Linked DNA regions of Homo sapiens: region 1 is linked to region 2. Evidence: promoter capture Hi-C in 16 types of primary human blood cells and fetal thymus (Javierre and others, 2016). All regions are on one chromosome and are shown on one strand. Each heading gives the region's core, a stretch centred on a gene start or on the middle of the fragment in contact. The rest is flanking DNA. Distances are from core to core; before and after follow the strand shown.

The links. Contacts are between HindIII fragments. The CHiCAGO score rates a contact against its expected background, and 5 or more counts as called.
Region 1: a contact is called between a fragment that was not itself captured here and the fragment with the promoter of DCD in region 2, in 1 of 17 cell types (activated CD4 T cells). The highest score is 5.9, in activated CD4 T cells.

The regions. Positions count from the first base shown.
Region 1 is chr12:55,173,745-55,178,337 of GRCh38, forward strand. No RefSeq gene overlaps it. Among named protein-coding and RNA genes, the nearest start is that of OR10A7, 45 kb to the right of the region's middle. The HindIII fragment of the contact is 1,969 bases long and covers 1,004-2,972 here.
Region 2 is chr12:54,645,175-54,650,086 of GRCh38, forward strand. It overlaps DCD (dermcidin), which reads right to left and starts at 3,191. Exons shown (of 5, transcript NM_053283.4): 1 at 3,072-3,191; 2 at 1,947-1,985; 3 at 432-533; 4 at 1-88. The coding sequence starts at 3,129. The HindIII fragment of the contact is 3,742 bases long and covers 1,366-4,912 here.

The DNA.
Region 1 (4,593 bases), core at 738-3,237, 530 kb after region 2:
TTTTCTTTTCTCCACCAGGTCAGGAGTTGGTGGGTTGGTGCAAAAGTAGTTGTGTTATTTGACATTACTTAGCATGATGGGGACCATGAATGCTTTTGCACCAACCTAATAACACGCTCCTGCAAGTAGAAGGGACTTCTCTATGCCAGAGGCCTTTTTTCCTTTGAGAAGACATTATACTAGGCCAGGACTCAGTACACAAGACACCCTTTTCTCTCTCTTGTTGGAGGAGGACTCAGTTCCACAGCTTCACCTTAGCATTTGGCTTGTAAAGTGTCCACACAACCCGCCGAAGCAGTTCTTTTGTCCCAAACTCAATTCCAAGCTTTGAGTCGAAGCCCTAGGAAAGAAAACTCAATCTGGGGTATAGTGTTGAATAATATTCTATTGTCTAAATGTGCTACACTTTCTTTATCCATTCACCTACTGAAGAGCATCTTGATTGCTTCTGTTTTGGTAATTATGAAAAAGGTGTTACAGATATCAGGGCATAGGTTTTTTCGTGGATATAAGTTTTCAACTCTTTTGGGTGAATACTACACAGTGTGATGGCTGGGTCATATTGTAATAGTGAATTTAGTTTTGTAAGACAAGGCTAACCTGTCTTTCAAAGTGGCCGTGCCATTTTGCATTTCCATAAAAATTAAATGAACATGCTTGTTGCCCTATATCCTCACCAGTATTTTGCATTGCCAGTGCTCTGGATTTTGGCCATTCTAATAGATGTGTGGTAGTATCGTGTTATTTTAGTTTGCATTGCCCTGATGACATTTGATGCAGAACATCTTTTCATATGCTTATTTGACATTTGGCTATTTTTTGTGTGTCTGTTAAGCTATGTGGCCTATTTTTAATATTAAGTTATTTGCTTTCATATTGTTGAGTTTTAAGAGTTGTTTGTATATTTTGGTAACAGTCCTTTATCAGATATGACTTTGCAGAAATTTCCTTTCAGCCTGTGGCTTGTCTTTTTATTTTGCTGACTTTTTTTTTAACTGTACAAAGCTTACACATTAGTCAGATTTATTACTAAATATTTAATGTTTTGAATCTATTCAGTGGTGTATTTTTAGAAGAATCCAGTTATACTCTAACTCTCCCAGAGTTATATTAGAAATACCATATAACACTCCCAGAGATATGTTAGAAATAACATATCTAAACTCATCATGAGGCCAACATTACTTTGAAAACATATCCATCTCTCATGAATATAGCTACAACAATTCTTAATAAAATTTCAGAAAATCAAATCTGCAAATATAAAAAGAGGAAACATTAATGTTACCACATTATAAGAAATCAATGTAATTCTCAAGGCTACACTAGATTCAAAATATGGAGAAGTATATGTAAATTCTATCTCTTTGTAAGGATGAGCTGGCAAATATCAGAGTGATATTTGCAATTAATCACAAGATAGTATCCCCCTGTTGAAGGGTGTGAAGTAACACACTAGAAGGGGCAGGTTGATGAATATAGAGCCATTGTATAATCTCCACCCTTTTTCCTTAATACTCCAATTTTTTGAAAGAGAAATAAACTTATAGCTTATTCAGGTTGCATTGATTTTGTGATTTATGATCCTCATAATTTTCAAGAACAATCCTTGTAAATATGCTATTTCTGTGTGGATCCTTCCTCCACTCCTTGATGCTGGATGCTTCTCCCATACCGCAGATTTGAGGTTTACTTCCCAGAAAGTGTAAAGCGGAGGGTTTCTAGACTTGGAGACATAATGTACAGAAGATGAGTGGTTTTATACCAAAACTATGCGACTAAATTCCATATTCTGAACATATGTGAGATGTCCCAGGACTCCTCCCTCATTTGACAATTTTTGCTTCACATATTTTAATGGTCTGTGATTAAGTGTGTGAATGTTTATAATTGTTTTATCTTCTTGTGGTATTAAAACTTTTATTGATATGTCCTCCTTTTTTCTTGTTATTTTTAAAAATTTAAAGTCTATTTTTCTGATGTTAGTGGAGCCACTCCTGCCTTCTTTTAATTACTTTTCTATCATTTCACTTTTAATCTATTTCTCTCTTTAGATCTAAAGTGAGTTCCTTGTAGGAAAGTATATAGTTGTGAACCATGCTTCAAGGGGTTAAAAAAATTAATAAATTCTTGGGCTTACTGCATGGCAGATAAGAAGAGAAACAACTTACTAAAACTGTGCCCCGAAAGTAAGAAACTAGTAATTAATAGAAATTATTGAGTTTTCAGGATAGCAGACAAGAAAATAAACAACTTGATGAAATGCTGAAACTCTCTCCGCTGTAAGATAAAGAAAAAATTTGCTGAAGTCAGTTGGAACCAAGACGGCTGTATTAGTCCATTTTCATGCTGCTCATAAAAACGTACTTGAGATGGGGTAATTTATAAAGAAAAAGAGGTTTGATGGACTCACATTCTCAGTCTCACAGTTCCACATGGCTGGGGCGGCATCACAGTCACGGTGGAAGGTGAAAGGCACAAGCAAGCAAAAGTGGTTTCTCCATTATAAAACCATCAGATCTCATGAGACTTATTCACTACCACAAGAACAGTATGGGAGAACCACCCCCACAATTCAATTATCTCCCACCGGGTCCCTCCCGCAACATATGGGAATTATGGGAGCTACAATTCGAGATGAGATTTGGGTAGGGACACAGCAAAACCATATCAGTGGCCAACTAGAGTTTGCACATAATGAGCTTGCTGATGTCACCACAGCCTTAATTTCCGCTGCATGTTTTATACTAACTCCCCCTGAATTTGCATATGCAATGCATGAGGTAGTATGAAGAGATAACTGCACATACCAAAGGACTTTCCAGACCTCCTCTTTCCTTTCATCAATCACCTGCTAATTTCAGAATTAACACCCTAAACCTTTTCTAATGAGATTACTGCCTTAAAGCCAGCACAGGGAGGAAGACTTGAGCTCAACTCCTGTCTCCTTATGAGTCAACTTGGCAATAAAAAGCTTTTCTTTTCTCAAAAACCTGGTGTCATAGTATTGGCTTTTAGTGCATCAAGCAGCAAACCACTTTTGTTTCAGAAAAATTGAATCTTTTTTTGTTTTTTTCTTCCATTCCGTCAGTATCTATTTTTTTGATTGGAGAGTTTAATCATGTACATTTAAAGTAAGAATGGGCTTATTTCTGTTACTTTATTATTTCTATATGCCTTATAGTTTTTAAAAATCCTATTTTTCCTGCAGTACTTTTTTTTGGTGTTTAGCCTTTTTTTTTTTTCTACTGAAACATTTACATCCCTTTCCCATTTAACTTTTTCATGTATATTCTTTAGTTATATTTTTGTGGTTACCATGGGAATTACCTCTAATATTCTAAACTTTTAATATTTATACCAGCTGATTTAAATTTATACCAGCTTCAATAACACACAAATTCAATAACATACAAAAGCTCAGCTTCTTTAACAGATCCATCTCCACACCTTTCAGTTGCTGACATAAAATTACATTTTTATACATCGTGTTTCCAAAAAATAAACTAATGATTTTCTAATGCATCGACCTCTTAAACATTTTTCTAATATATTATTCTCTTGAATCATGTAGAAAACAAAAAGTGGAGTTACACATCATTGTTACAATAATACTAGCTTTTATAATTTCCTATGTATTTACTTTTACTGAGATTTTTACCTTTTTATATGGCTCTGAATTACTCTCAAGTGTCTTTTATTTCAGCACTTTAGCATTTCTTGCAGGGGCAGGTCTAGCGGTTACAAACTTCGTTGATTTTTATTGTCTGGAAATATATTTATTTTGCTCTCATTTTTGAAAGATAATTTTACCAGATATATGATTCTTGATTGACAATAGTTTAAAAAAATCTTTTAGCACTTTTAATATATCAACCCACCATTTTCTGACTTCCAAAGATTCTGATAAAAAGTCTTATAATCTTATTAAGTATAACTTTTAAGTGACTAGCCCCTTTTCTCTTGTTGATTTCAAAATTCTTCTTTGGCTTTGTCTTTCAATGGTTTGATTATAACATTCCTCAGCTGAGTCTCTGAGTTCATTTTTCTCGGAGTTTGTTGAGCATCTTGCATGTTTATGTTCATGTTCTTCACCAAAGTTGGGGTTTTTGGCCATTATTTGTTTGTGTATTCTCTCTGCCTCTTTCTGTCTTCTCCTCCTGGAACTCCCATAGTGCATATGTTTGTCTGCTTACTAGTGTCCCACAAACTGTTTAGGATTTTTTCACTTTCCTTCAGTCTATTTTCCTCTTTCTCAGATTGAATAATTTTTATGGCTCTATCTTTAAATTTGTTGATTCTTTCTTCTGCCTGCTCAAATATACCTTTGAATCCCTCTAGTGAATTTTTCATTTTAATTTTACTTTTTAGCCCCAGAATTTCTTTTTGATCTCTTTTTGTTTTCCATTCCTCTATTGACATTTTAATTTTGTTCATCTATTATTTTCTTGACTTTCTCCATTTCTTCTTTAGCTTGATGAATATCTTTAAGACGTTGTTTTACAGTCTTTGTCTATTAGATCTGCTATCATGCTGTTTTCAAGAAGGTTTCTGTCGCTTTATTTTTTTCCCCTTTGAATACACCATACTTTC
Region 2 (4,912 bases), core at 1,941-4,440:
TTACCCACGCTTTCTAGATCTTCGACTGCATCTTTTCCTAGTTTTCCGAGTCCCCCCACAGCTTTTTTTGCTCCGTCTAGGCCTTTTTCTAGGGTGGATTCAGAAAAGAAGAGGTCATAGAAGCAGAAAAACTACTTCCTTTGTAGGAGAGCTCCCCCGCTTCCTAGGCACCATGGGCACCCCTAAGGTGAAGTGGTTTTGCTGAAGGAACCAACTTCTCTGTCATGGGAAGGTTGGTAGGCCAGTATTAGCTGCAAAACCTATGGCCCAGAAACCCTGTATGTAGAAGCAGGTGTGCACCCCAAGCCCTCCCTAGGAATATGGGTGTAGCTGTGTCCCTGTGCTTGTGCCTGTGAGGGCAGACTGGCCCCCAGATATCTTGCTGTTTCATGCATCAGAATTCTATACCAGGCATTGGGAAAGAGGCTTACCCAGAAGGCTGGATCTCTGCTTCCTTGGCTTTGGTGCCTGTCTGGCTAACCCTGGGTCTTCACCTGCATTTTCCTTTTGAGCTGCTGATGCTTCATGGCAAGCTGCAAGGGTAAGGGAGTGAGAGGAATAATAGCTATTTCACTCTTTCCACCCTGGTCGGGGAGCAGGTGGTGCTTTTACCCCCTCAAGGTCTGGCTTGAGGATAGCTCCCTCTCTCCCAATTCCTCTAGAGCTTGACTTTCATGATGTGTTAGGTTCTTTAGCATCCCTCAAGCTTTTTCCTGCTGCCTCCAAGACTTTTCCTGCTCCTCCAGGGCCCTTTTCTAGAGTAGATTATGGTTCAGGGAAAAGTAAAGTCATTTTGGCAGAAAGATCACCTTAAAGAGACTCCCCCTAGTTTTCATCCCTTATACCAGCCCCCTAGTGTGGGGAGGTTTTGCAGAGGGCACTAGCTTCTCTCTTCTAGGCAGGTTGGTGGATGAGGACAGAAATTTGGCAGTCTCTGAAGGGGGCTTCTGTAGCTGTAAACAATCCATTTGTTTATCTGGAAAATCAAAACTTCTGTTATTGCATTGGTGTGAAACGCTCCAGGGGCATCTGAGAAGACACCAAGGTGCCCGGTGTTCCCTCTGGGCTTTATGTGAGAAGGCAGGGAGGGTGCAGGTGTGTGCTGTGGTTGGGGCTCGCAGTGCAGTGAAGATGTGCAGAAATACAGTTTATCTTTCTGCCGTTAATTATCCAGAGTGTGTACATGGCTGGGGAAGTAGAAATGAATGAGAATTAGATCTCTCTCTCAGGGGCTTACAGTCTAGGAAAAGAGACAAAACTGCTATATATGGGAAGCCCAGAAGAGGGAGGGATGAAAGGAGAGACTGGGACAGAGGCACCATACACACCAGGCAGGGAGGGCTTCAGAGAGCAGCTGGGACTTGAAGCTTGTTAGAGCACGGACAGGTAGGGGTTGAAAAGGTACCCAGGAAGAGGAACGTTGGGTAGTAGAAAGTTACTCATGCTGTCTGATGAAACAAATGTATAACGTTTGATGTGGAGAATGCAAGCAGTGGAGTCTAGGGAAATTATATTTGAAAAGTACCCTGGATCTAGATCATGGATACCCTGAATGTCAGGCTAGGAGGTGAGAGTTTCGTGATGAGAAATGGGAAACCACGTGAAAGGTTTTTGAATTGAAATTGTTGGTGAAGGTGGGGCAGATGAAAACCTCTGAACCCATCTAATGTGAAGTTCCTCCTCTTGCTCAAGAAAAGTATTCTTTTCTTTCCCATTTTTCTTACTCCACTTCTACTTCCAGACAGGGCCACCCTTTCCCCCATGCTCTGTCCTTCTCCAGTGCATGAGTCTCTCAGGAAGTCTCCCTTCTCCATGTCTCCTAAAAGTCGGCCTCCCAACTCTCCTTCCCCGGACCCCCCTTCTGCTTCTCTGACTTCCTCCACTCATATCCCAAGTCATTAACCCTCCCACCCAGGACTGGGGCAGGAGGAAGAGAAAGGACTCACGGTTCCCCGATCCTGGGGCAGAGGCGGCCTCTGGATCATCTGCAAAGGAGGGAACAGTGACCATGTCAAGTAGGGCACAGTTGCATGAGCTGTATCCAGCCAGGGCTGCCTAGAATTCCCAGGCCTCTAATCTCAGGAGTGTGGCAGTGGACAGACAGGAGAGAAATCTCTGCTTCACAAGGGGCCCACTAGAAATGCTTTTTGGTATCTCAACCAAATCCCTCTCTCTGTTATCCTCCCTAGACCTAGGCTACTCAGAACATCCCTATGGAAATGGAATCATTCTCTGACTCTCTTCTATGTCTTAGATGTCCAAGTTTCATAATGAAAGTTGAAGGGGCATGACCACGAGGGCATGACCACAGCACCTGCTCTAGTGACAGGGCAGGAGTTGTTCTGATTGTCACCTGATAGAATGACCTCAGAAGGACCTTCCCTCCATTTCTTTATTCTTCCAAAAGCATGAATGAAGCACGCATTATGCACCAGACATGGTGTTAGAGGCTAGAGATACAGCTGTGAGGAAGACAGACAGTGTAATTGCTCGGGGAAGCTGACAGTCAATGGGGGATTTGGAGGAATTAACATAATTACATAAACAATTATTTAATTACATTTGTGATAGTGCTAGGAAGGAAAAATACAGGAGGCAAGAAAATGCAAAATAGGGGCCAAAATGATTCTGGGGCTTCAGCAAGCCTGCTGTGAGGAAATACATGGACACAGAGAGCTAGCAGGGCGGACACTTGGAAATTGAGTAGGAAGGAGGTTGACGTGGGTGGGTGAAATAATGGGCAGGGGAAAAGACAAGAGGATGTGCAAAAGTCTTGGCAGTGGGAAATGGCTTGGTTCATTGAGGGGAAAAAGAATGCCAGAGTGGTTGGAGCAGAGTGGGCCAATCACAGACTGAGAGGAGAGGCAATGGAGAGCCAGGCTGGGGCCACAGGGCTCCTGGCTTCCTCTGACCATAGAGTCCCTGTGTGGAGAACCTAGTGGGAGGCAGGAGTGGGCTACAGAGACAGACTTGGGTGAACTGCCTCTGGCGAGGAGGGGAAGGGGAAATGAAGGCAGGGCCCAGTCTTCAGGGGACTATATGGTTGGGTGTCGGGGAAGAGCCATACTCACAGGCACAGACCAGGGCTCCTGCCAGAGCTGTCAGGAAGAGGAGAGTCATGAACCTCATGCTTCTGTGTGCTGGAGTGGGTATGCCACCAAATCCTTGGAGATCTTGGGATCTAGGGTGTCAAGACTGCCTCTCTGGGCCTTTTTTTAAGCATGACAGGGACCAATGGGAACCAGTCTTCCAGTGGTGTGTTCTCCTCCTCCTCTTCTCCCACCTCAGAGCCACCTGTTAAGTCAACAAAGGCTGGCTGGGGCTGGCTGGTGCCCGCCTTCCCTGCAGGTAGGTCCTGGACAGCAGCTCTGGAGTTGGCACTGTCCTGACTGGCATCCTTTTCCTGCCTCTCCCCTTCCCATCTCGCTTGTCCCTGGGCTCCCATCTCTGATTGCATCTGGGGTCCTGGGGAAGACTGTGAGAGGTTTCTGGAGAGGGCCCTGGCAGGAGGGCTGTGCCCAGAAGGCTCTCCTTCCACCTGGAAACAGAAGGGGGGCCCAAGATGTCAGATCCAGCCTCCTTAGGAGAGAGTGGGGGTGGCTGAGGCTTCCCTTGAGTGGGTTAAGCCCACCCTAGGGGGCTGCCCTCACAGCATTTGGGGATCCCACCTGACTAAGGTCCAGAGAGGCTGATGTCCTCTCTAGGGGTCTCCATGTGGTAACCAGAGCTTCCCAGCCTCAGTAGGCCCTGACCAGGGTGTCTTCAGTCCCAGCTAATGATCCTCTACCCCAGAAAATTCTCCTGGTAAGTTAACCAGAATATGAAGTCAGTTCCCAGTTTGCCCTTCATATAGGGGAGGGAGGCCAGTGGTGTGGATAATCCAGAGAAGTGGAGAATCCAAAGGTGCTTCTCTCTGCCTCAGAATCCCTTCCTGCGGACTTGTGTTTTCTTCGAAATGGCAGAAAGTCCTGGAGATGTGGGTTTATGACTCGATTTTGTTGTTTACTAGCTGTGTGGCCTTCAGAGAGGCAATTTACCTGCCCCACTTCAATTGTTTTTCTTTCTTCTTTTATTTTATGGTAATATTTAAGGTGTAACATGAAGTTTTGATATACATGTATTTAGTGAAATGGTTACTATAATCAAGCAAATGAACACATCCATGATTTTACATAATTAGCCTTTTGTGTGTGTGTCTCTCTGTATGTGTGTGTGTGTGTGTGTGTGTATGTGTAAGAGCACCCAAAATCTGCTCTTCCAGCAAAAATCCCAAATTCAATACAGTATTATTGACTCCAGCTCTTGTGTTCCACTTCAGCTGTTTTGCATTTGATGGTGAGAAATGATCATTTTAATCCTACAGGTTTCGTGTGAGGAATACATGTGTCAAAACTGGTCAGCTCCCTCCTCCATCTATTCCAGACCCAAGCTGGGGAGCTGAGGATAACTTGGAACCTTAGTTTCTGCTCCTCACAAAGCCAGTTACTTCCTTGAGATGTCTTCTCTCCACGGAGTGGAGCCTGCCCTTGCCCTGTTCCTGGGACCTTGGTGAAAATGGACTGAGATTTGTTTCCTGAGGTGCTCTGTCTGTGCCAGACACCGTGTTGGACCCAGACAGATAAAGATGAGTAGACTGTGGTCTTGCCTTGAGGGGATACACAGTAGGCAAGGATCTCAGACAGATGAAGGGACAATTGATGGTAGCAGGGGACTCTGTCCTGGTAGACAAAGCATGCTCTTCCTAGCCTATGGGATTGAAGCAAAGTTGTGCTCCACCACTTAGAGGCTGAATGATTTTGGCATGTCACATAATCTCTCTGACTCTCATCTCCACAGTGTGACCCAGGGTACTTGTGAAATTCGAACAGGAATAGCTCAGATCCACTTTCTGGGTCAACTTTCTGGGGCTCTT